2 separate regions of the Homo sapiens genome follow, and region 1 is linked to region 2. The links are contacts of gene promoters, found by promoter capture Hi-C in blood cells and fetal thymus (Javierre and others, 2016). All regions are on one chromosome and are shown on one strand. The core of a region is centred on a gene start or on the middle of the fragment in contact, and the rest is flanking DNA. Distances in the headings are between cores, read along the strand shown.

Region 1 (4,621 bases), core at 1,955-4,454, 520 kb before region 2:
TATTACGATGTCTTGACATTTTACAAACCTTGCTGGCTGGAGAGAAGACTCTGCCCCTCCCAGAGCTAGCCAATTCTTAGAGTTGGCAAAGTGCTCTCAGTGGGTTGCTCACCTTTGATGTGTAAACTAATCATCTAGAGCCACACTTCTATCTGGCCAGTACACCCCAGGAGGTGACATTCCTCTAACTTAATCATCCCAGGGCTGGATATCAGGCACCTAAGGACCATCCCTATAGCTTAGAGCCCCATGAAATGATTCAAACTCGCCAATCCTAAACTGTTTGCCCTGCCCAGCCTTGCCTTTCCCGCAGAAACCCCAGTAAAAGCTCTAGCCTGCCTTCCTCTTGCTCCTGTCTTCTACCTCTTGACCAGAACCTGGTGTTCCTCAAATGACTTTGAGTGATGTAGCATGCCTCCTATTTTTAGGGCCTGTGAGCATAATAAACTTTGTTTCCAGAGCCTCTCCTGTAGCTGCACCATCACATTAAAGAACACAGAACAACTACAAAGGAACAAAGCTCTGGGTATATTTAGGATTCTGGAACTGGGCTGTGCATATCTAGCAGGGTAGCCTGCAGGGAGGTTTGACTGGATCATGGAAAACCTAGACAACTATGGTGAGGAACAGACCACAGAGGCTTCTGGACAGGGGAGTGGCAGGTGCAGAGCTATGATTCAGATTAGTTTCAGCTATGTTTCAGATTAGCATGGCACTGATCAAAGCTGTAGGTAGGGGAACCAAAGAAGTTATTTCAGTCATCCAGATGAGTCAACCAAAAGGAAGAAAGAGGAGTCAAGGATTAGAAAGACAGTGACATCATCAATCTAGTAGGCGAATCACACAATCAGGTGTGGGGGCAAAGATGAAGAGTTTGGTTCTGGAGTTCTAAAAATAAAACCGCTAGTATAGGCTTTAACATATAGGGAGGGATTAAAACATTTTGACTGATTATTGACAAGTTTGTCAATCATTACTGAGTCAAAATGGTTGTTTGGACTTGCATTTCTTTAATTATGACCAACTTGAGCATCTTATTATTTATTCATTTTTTCATTCAGCAAATATTTGTCAAATTCCTACTATATGCCAGGTATGGGTCTAAGTGTGAAGGCTATAGCAGTCAGCACCATATTCCCTGCCTTCATAGACCTTGTCTTCTAATGGTGATAAATGAACAATAACCAGATAAATAAGAAAATATATGGTACATCCGATGGTGATACATTCTATGAAGAGAAGTAAAGCAAGGAAAGGAAATGGGGAATGCCGAGTGTGCAGTGTGAAGCAGGGAAGGCCTCCTGAGAAAGTGACACTGACCCAAAGGCTTCACAGGTCAGCCTGAGAGCCAAAAGAAAATCTGGGGAAGGGACAGTTTAGGCAGAGGGAATGGTAATCACACAGGTCCTTGACTGGACCATATCTGGCCCCCTCTTTTCAAGTAATTATTGAGAATCTGTAGTTGTTACTCTGTGAACTGTTGGTTCATATGCATATTTGCTCTTAGCTTGCCTGTCATTTCTTACTGATTAGGAATCCTTCACATGTTAAAGAAATCATCCCTTGCCTAGCATATATATTACAAATGTTTTCCTCAGCTTACCATTGTGTTATTTTGTTTATATTGAGATTATGTATTTTTATATATGTCATATATTTAATCATAATTGCTATACAGAAGTATTACATTTTAGGTAATAAAATTTATCAACCTTTTCTTAATGGCTTCTAGACTCTGTGTCTTATCTAGGAAGGTTATCTCCACTCCATGAATGAAGAAAACTTTATTTTTTTCTTCTTATAATTTTATGAACTTAAACGTAACATTTAAAATGTTAATACATCTGGAGTTTATTTTGGTGTAATCAACAAAGTCAGTTTACTGTTTGAAAAACAAGGGACTCTTGAAATGAAAAACTTCTAAGACCCAAAAGGATGTGTTTCTAAAGGTGACAGAGCAGGGAGGTTGTGTGGAAATTGGCTGCAGAAGACCCTGCTGAAGCCTGCATTCTCGGATGCCAACAGCCATTCTCTAGCCTCATTTCCCAAAGTGCTTCTGTGGCACTCTGGTTCCACAAGATAATTACAGGTATCCAGCAAAAACGTTTTCCATCTTGAAATAAGTTTCAGAAACCTGGGATAACTGTGTAGTAACTCTAGGACAATTGAGATTCTTTAATACATCAATGTCATTGTAAGTCCCCAACTGGGGCACTGTAGGCCATGGAACATTTGTCTCATAAAGCATCTTGGCTACCAGTATTCTATATTTGGAGCGGTCGTTCCCAGACTTTGGTTATATCAGAAATATCTAGAGAGATTTTTATAACACATACTGCTGAATCCCATTCCTGATCAATGGAATCCAAATCAGTGAAGACAGCATGCAAGAATTTTTAAAACTCTCATTGACAGGTGTTTTGTGATCAGTGGTCCAAAATAGCCTCTGCTTAAAATGTTTCCACTAGAGAACTAGGCCAACAGAAAATTATCAAATGACTATTTTCTCAATTATCCCAAGGATGAGACATAGCTAGTATCACTTTAGATGCATAGGAGGGAAGTTAATTCATTGCTTATAATAGATTCCTGAGAGCATCGTGCTTCAATTCTCTCCTAAAACCCTGGTTGAGAAGAGCTGGACATGGTACTGGTGCCTGCAAAAAGGTGTACTTTCTTGGACCTTACCACCTCTTCATCTCCTATCACTTACAAAAAGAACATTAAGTGTTAAATTTGATAGCAAGGGGGCAGTAATGGGATCAAAATCAAACTAAGCTTCATTGGATAAGCATACTCACTCACAGGCTTCTCAAATTAATAGAGTTCTCAGAAATTTGGTCTGATCAATCATGTTTTGTTCTTTCCCCAGATAATATTTGCTATAGTCTGTTATAAAAGTTCATTAATAACACAGTTATCTCTAATAAGGTCTAATTTTTTTCTTTATCCTAACCTCGAGCCCTTATCTTGTTTACAATTCTTTCCTTCCATCAGTGTCTCAAAAGAAAGTATAATATACTTCAGACTCCATAAACTTCATTGCATTGTGCAAAACTATGTACATTCAGTTTTGAAAATAAGAATGATTTTAATAATCTGAATAACCTAATATGTAATCATAGTGCCAAATATCATGCTTATTATTATAATTATTTCCTCTCTAAATCAATTCATTTGTAAGCTCAAAGCATGCATTTTATTAGTCCTAATTGGATTCAGAGAGCTGTGATCTCCTTGTAACCCTAATCCCTATTATAAAATGGAAAAATCATCATTAAATTTGATTTACATGCTCCTTTTGGGTAGTGTCACCTACGCTACCCTCATAGCAAGGATTTTCTATTAAAATATCTTTTTGAACTAAGAATTCTAGTCATTTAGAATAGCCAAGATGAGCACATGTCACATCCTAGAGTTAGTGTAAAAATTTAACACTTTTCTTCCTGGCTATCAAAACTAATATTCTGAAAAAACTGGAATGATTGAATGTACCCAAATCATTCCTGGTTATCAGAACTAATATTCTGTCCAAGTCTGAATTGCTGAAATTCCCAAGGTAGATTCTGAAAAGCACTAATCCTGTGAAATACTCTATGAAGTAGGAGTCTTGGAGTCAAATAAGCTTGAGAAATGCTGAAATTCAAAATGTATCTTAGTATACCAACTCCTTTAGAACTCCTAAAGCTTGAGAAATGCTGAAATTCAAAATGTATCTTACTATACTAACTCCTTTAGAACTCCTGGAGTTTTTTTTTTAAGTTTCTATTAAAAATGTTGTATAGACCAGGAATTCTTTTCAAGTATCTTACTTAGTGACATGCTACAGAACACAGTTTGGAAATTGATAAGAAAGACTAACATTTATGGAGTATCTATTATATAAGTTAGTTGCCACTATAAATTCATTTAACATTATAGTAAGTCTCCCCCTAGCTGGTGCCAACACATTGTGTGAAACCATCCATGAAAGAGGCCCAAATATTTCCTTCCTCAGACAACTCATCAGGGATATTTCTTAGGAGACTAGAGGTGTGAGTTGAGAACAAGTTGGCAAGACAGCAAAAGTAGGTGCCAAGGGAGTCTGTGCCAGGTACTCACACAACTTAGTTTCGTCTTCAAGATCAACTTCATTTCCATCTCATATGCAGTTTTCTTTTCTTGTGATCATGGAGTACTCTACGAACACCCAATTGTAAGGTTTGGTGGATGAGATAACACCTAACTCATGATGGGCTACTTAGGTGGTATGGCATTCAGTCTCTACTAGGGCCCAGTAGAGAATTAAGAACTATTTCCAAACTGAATAAATGATCATTTTCAGAATAGAGCATGGCCGCGCTCTAAAGCCCTAGGTATCTGCACTGTTTCTCCTACTGGGTTTTCTCACAGCTCCATTTGTACAGCACCTCTAGCTGCCATAGACATGTTGTGCATCATTGGGTCTGCTTGGTCATTAGGTCTAAATAGTGGAGTGGTTTTCACAGCAGTCCAGACCAGCTGCAGTGCCTCCTTTAGTCTAGGTCCATTCAAAACTGGCAAATTTACTGGTTGTCATCTGGTAAATGAGTCAGAGCAGTACACTCAAAAGTGGGGAATGTTGCCTTTAACAACCAAAGAA
Region 2 (5,296 bases), core at 2,551-5,050:
CCTCCCACAATTTATTACAAAAATCATGAGAAAATATTCCAAAAAAAAAAAAACCCTCTGCAAATCACAGCAAACCACACAGGGACGCTATTTCTAATCTTGCACAATGATCATTTTTCTGCTTTTAGAACTGACGTCTTTACATTTCAAGAAATCATAAAAAGGCAGAATGATTCTCTTAAACCAAAAAAAGCATACTGAGTCCTGGCTGTCCTTTCGAAATGGATGCTGATGTCAGCTCAATCAAGAAATTATTAATCTCCATTTGGTTACTTAAAATAAACTGTACTGGCTGATTAAATGTGCTGAACATTTTCTCCAAGTAACAGTGCATATCACCAAGAAACCTTTCTCTTTCAGTTACACATTGCAAATGGCAAATGCATCATTCAAAACTATTTAAAATCAATAATAAAAATCATTTAAATGTATATAAACAAGTTAATGGAATAAGTGAAAACAAAGCAAATTTCTTAATGAGAGGGCCCTGTTGCCCCCTCTAGGTGCCAGCAGTAAATGCTGGTTTCTGTAAGGCTCTCCTCCAGAGAAGACTGCTGCTGCTATTCTGCTAATGAATGACTAACTTAGGCCAGGGGGGAAATGACATCACCAGGGTGGAAAACCGATCTGCATTGGGAAACTTTCTACCTGCTTTACATTTGTCATAATTATTTTGCACAATGCAGTCTGCATTTGCATAATTTTGAGGCGTGTCATTATCTCAATTGAAAATTGTTTTAATATGGCTGAATAATTCACAATGACATCAGCCAAAGTCCTAATGAAATATACAAGTATAATCATACAGCTAATTACCAGCCGTGTTAGCATTAAAAAACAAATCATGCATAATATTAGACGATGTATATGCAGCTGAGGATTATAAATAGAGCCATCTCCCTCCGCAAACCCCCTAGAGTTTACTTTTAAATGGCAAGATTAATTTTCTCAGGTATGGCTCATATAGCAGTGACGAAATGCACAGATCATTACAATGGTTCCCTTTCAATTCCCCATAATGAACAATTAAAAAGAAATCGTGTATTTAAAAATATATCTATTCACTGTCAACACTTCTAGCAGATGCAACGTTTGGCAAATATAGCCTTTATTCTTAAATCAGAATTCACCATTTAATTACACCAACAAAAATTAAAACTGTACCAAGTGGGGTCAACTCAGGGTCTTTAAAAAACATCCCAATTTCAATTCCCCGCCCCCCAAAAAAGAGTGACCACAAAATATCCCATAAAACACTGAATAATTTCCTCCTGGACTTAGTCAGAAGTCTGTTAAGCACCAGTTCTTTTCTGGATATTTAATCCTTCCCTTTTCCAGATCACAGGCCATGTTGAAGTAATAAATTTGAAAAGCAAATAATAAGAAATCAGGAGGGGGAGAGGGAGGGGGAGGAAGACAGCTGCGCAGGAAAGTTGGGTCGGGGGAGGGGGCCGAGCCAGACCTTGGGAGGGGGAAAGAGCTCAACCTGTTGGTAGGTTGCAGGATTTTTCACAGTATTTCCAAACAACACCTTTTTAAAATTGCAGGCGGACGTCGGGAAATATGAACATTTAAAAACCAAAGCTGGCCGGGGAGGGTGGAGGGGGGAGGTGAGCGGGGAGGTGGGAGGGGCTTATTTCCGAAAAGGCAGATTCGAGGGCGAACGTTTCGACGAACTCCAGTAATTAACCGGCATAGACCACTGACGAGTAATTCGATCCTGGGGAGAGGGAGTGAACTAGCAATGCCAAAAGTACTATCAACTCGATCAAACCGAGGAATTCTGGAAGGACTGGCAGCTCCGAGCCCCGGGATGAGTTAAACGGGAAACCATTCATTTAACAAAAAGATCCTTAGATCCTTACACCTACCTCGAAAGCTCGAGAGCCTGGCACAGCACTAGCTGCCCTCAAAAGTCTGTTTGATTACCCTGCTCTCGCTTTGGCAACACAAAGCCTCGCCAGGCGGCAGTGCGCCCTCCCTCCCCGCTGCGCCGTGGGCACAGACTCCCCAAAATAGTTCCCCTCGGTAGGTACCACGGCGCTGAGGTCGGTCAGCTGAGGAGGGGAGCCCGCAGAACTGCGGTCACACATGAAATGACAGAGCCGAAGGGAGGCGGCCGCCCCGGCGCCCAGTGACAGCGGGCTCACCTCCGGCGTCCTCCCGGGAGCGCGGCGAGCGCCCCCGCGGCCGCCCAGAAACGTGCCGGGGAGGCTCTGTCCCCTCCCCGCCCTCCCCGGGAGCGCCGTCTGGGCACGGAGAACGCTGGACCCGCAGGGCCAGTGGGCGAGCACACACCCCTCTGCCCTCCCCTCCCCCGCCCCCGTCCCACACACCCCCAAAGATCGCGCAGGAGGACGTCCACTTTGCGTGGAGTAATTGCAAACTAGAACATCAAATGGCTTGTCCGGGGGGAGGGGGAGTGGGCGAGAGATAGTTGTTAATGCTTAACGTGTTTGTGCCTGTTACACCACCGCTTTGAAATCCGCCCGGGCAGATCTGCAAGTTATTTGAATGTATTATTCCAGTACCTGTCATTTATCACTTTATTCAACACGTCTTTGCCAACTCAATAGCTTTTGATCTCATTCTGCCTCCATTTCGTAATTTCCGCCCTCTTAAACATATCAAATACTTACTTTGAAAAAAGAACAATATCGAAACCCACCGAAAGAAATCCACCCAGACACGACCGAGCCAGACACGAAGGTAAATTTTCAAAAGGCAAAAAATATAAAAAGCATGTGATGTTCAAGAGGCAATAGCAGGAGAGCAAATGAACACACACACACACATACACACACACACACACACACACACACACATCCTTGAACAAAACCCTTCTCGAACAAGTTATTTGATCTTGACTAAAATCAGCAGTTGGATCCTCTTTGTAAAGCTGACAGCCAAACTCTGACAATGGCAAAATACTCGAGCCCCAGCTAGTGGCGCTACCCCTTTAAAAAAGGAGTCGATCCTGCTTGCCTGCAGAAGTGAATACAGTATTTTCAAGCTTGCCCTGTAATAAGCATTACTAGGGGGAAAAATAATAAAGAAAGAAGAGGGGGACAGACAGGTTTACCACCTCGCCATGGTCGCTATTTCTGCCCTGGGGAGTGTCTTCTGGGAGGAAATAAAGTTTAGAGCTGGATAAAAGTTGCCGGCTGGTCCTCTCTTCCCACAACAGCTGGAGCTCCGCTATGCAAATCGGATCCTTTGGCGTACATCTTACAAAGAAAAAGTCGCCAAGGGACAAAATTCTTGGTTTGCCTTCAAGGTGGAATTGAAAAGCCTTGTAGAAAATGTAAGGTCCGTGCAAGCCACACGGTGAGCCGACCCACTGCAGGGGGGGAAAAAAACACCAAATAAATAATGTAGCCATCAGAGCACAAACATCTATTCCCAGACACATTTACACACAGACATCCACTCTCTTAATACAGACGACCCAACAGATATAACGCTGGGTGGAAAAATAATAGCACCCACAAATTTTCTGCTTCCCTAAAAAAAAAAAAAAAAAAACTCAGGGCCCCCCACCGCCACTTCTACCCACCTCCCCATTTGAGGCGGTAAAATTACATTATGTATGTATGATCAGTGCAGGGATTTTTTTAAACAATAAAAATGATTTTGGGGGATGCAGAGGGTAAAAGTTTGGTGAAAAGTTTGTGGGGGGTGTGGGTGGGTGCAGAGGTGTGGGTGAGCTGGGGGGTTGGGGGGTGCCGGGGGGTGCCGGGATCGGAGGAGCGGAGGAGAGCGAAATACCTGGAGTGAGTTGGGCTCCATCTCGACGTTCTGAATTGATTGAACTCAACATTCTCTCCAAACTTGTTGGCTTGAATGGATTGCATCAGGTCCTGGCAGGGAAACGCATTCTCTGCCTTCAGCCGGCGTAATGTCTCAATATAAAACTGAGCTCTTGCCTCCCTTCGGGCACCGAAATGATTGAAAATATGTCCTAATATTTCTATAACGACTCAATTTTCAGCTCCTGAAAAAACTATGTGGGTTTTCTTCCAAAGATGGATTGATCAAATTCATAATCGAGAGAAAGGCGCCATACGATCTCGGCGGGAAGAGGATGGATCAAGGCAAAAAACACACAAGAAGATTTGTAAAAATAAAAAGCACCCTAAAACTGTGTGGAGATGTGATTCCTCTCTCTCTAACCGCTCCTGTCTGGGATATCGTCTGATGAGATTTTTGGAGGAGAGGAGGGGTAGCGAGCTCCACTGTGCATCTGACAGGACCTGCTTGTATATGTCTAATATAAAGAACATTTCCTGCAGAGATTCCGGGGCGCTGCTCCTCTTTCTAATGCTTCTTAGCAGATTTGCTGTTATTAGACATGTAGATTTGTTTGATAGTTAAATTACGCTTCCTCACTGCCATGTTTTCGAGAACTAATCTGTTAAATTATCTTTTGATGCCTATTTACATGGAAGGGAAAAGTGGGTTATCGATTATATAAACATATAAATATTAATGCATTTGTTCGCTTCGCAAAAAAATACTCAGCAAAAAAAAAAGAGACAAGTGAGCAGTGCACACACATCTTAGGATTTCGCAAACAATATTGAACGGACAGCGACTGCATTTAGGGACTGGAACAATAAACGATGCATGATAAATCAATAAATGCGAGAAGCGAGTCTGCTCAGAATATGAATTCAGGCTCCCGGTTCTGCGTGTGCATTCTTTAATTTTGAAGTATATACACTAGTACGTGTTTACAATGCTGATGGACGCCAAGGGCGCTCTCAAATGATAATGTGTTTATATAACCCAGCGCTACAGGAATAATATACCGACTCCTACCCCACCCCCATCCCCTCCCCCGCCAAAAAAGGGAGGGGAGCTTCCTCAATAATAGTTTGAAACTGAAAAAATCCATTTGCAAACTAGTTAAATACAACCAGAAATTAAGCTGTTGAAAACCGGGGGCATGAACCGTAAGACAATAAAGGCTTTAAATGTGTATATTTATTGTTCTGGAGCCCTGGAGCATTGCGAGGTTTGCATGCACGGCTATTATGCAAACACAGAGAAACTTAAGAGCGACAGAACAAGGAACAGGCAGAGACTGCAAAGCCCTCGCAAGCTCCGACCCAGCTGCCGGTCCTCCGCCAGGCTAGATTGCATTTTCGCAGTGTTGATTTAAAATGGTGTACTCGCTTCCCCCACGTTCCCCCACCCCCTTCCCCGCTCTCCTCCCACTCCTTCCAGCACACCCCCCCTCCAGCTTTTATTATATTGGCACCAATCTTTCCAAAGTGGGTCTGGCATGCTAAAA

The links. Contacts are between HindIII fragments. The CHiCAGO score rates a contact against its expected background, and 5 or more counts as called.
Region 1: a contact is called between a fragment that was not itself captured here and the fragment with the promoter of ARID5B in region 2, in 3 of 17 cell types (total B cells, naive CD4 T cells and naive B cells). The highest score is 5.9, in total B cells.

The regions. Positions count from the first base shown.
Region 1 is chr10:62,422,354-62,426,974 of GRCh38, reverse strand. It overlaps a transcript of ZNF365 not described here. Among named protein-coding and RNA genes, the nearest start is that of ZNF365, 50 kb to the right of the region's middle. The HindIII fragment of the contact is 847 bases long and covers 2,781-3,627 here.
Region 2 is chr10:61,900,203-61,905,498 of GRCh38, reverse strand. ARID5B (AT-rich interaction domain 5B) reads right to left here and starts at 3,800. Exons shown (of 10, transcript NM_032199.3): 1 at 3,769-3,800; 2 at 3,086-3,340. The coding sequence starts at 3,789. RefSeq lists silencers at 2,049-2,368, 5,109-5,278 and an enhancer at 3,608-4,110. The HindIII fragment of the contact is 3,094 bases long and covers 3,016-5,296 here.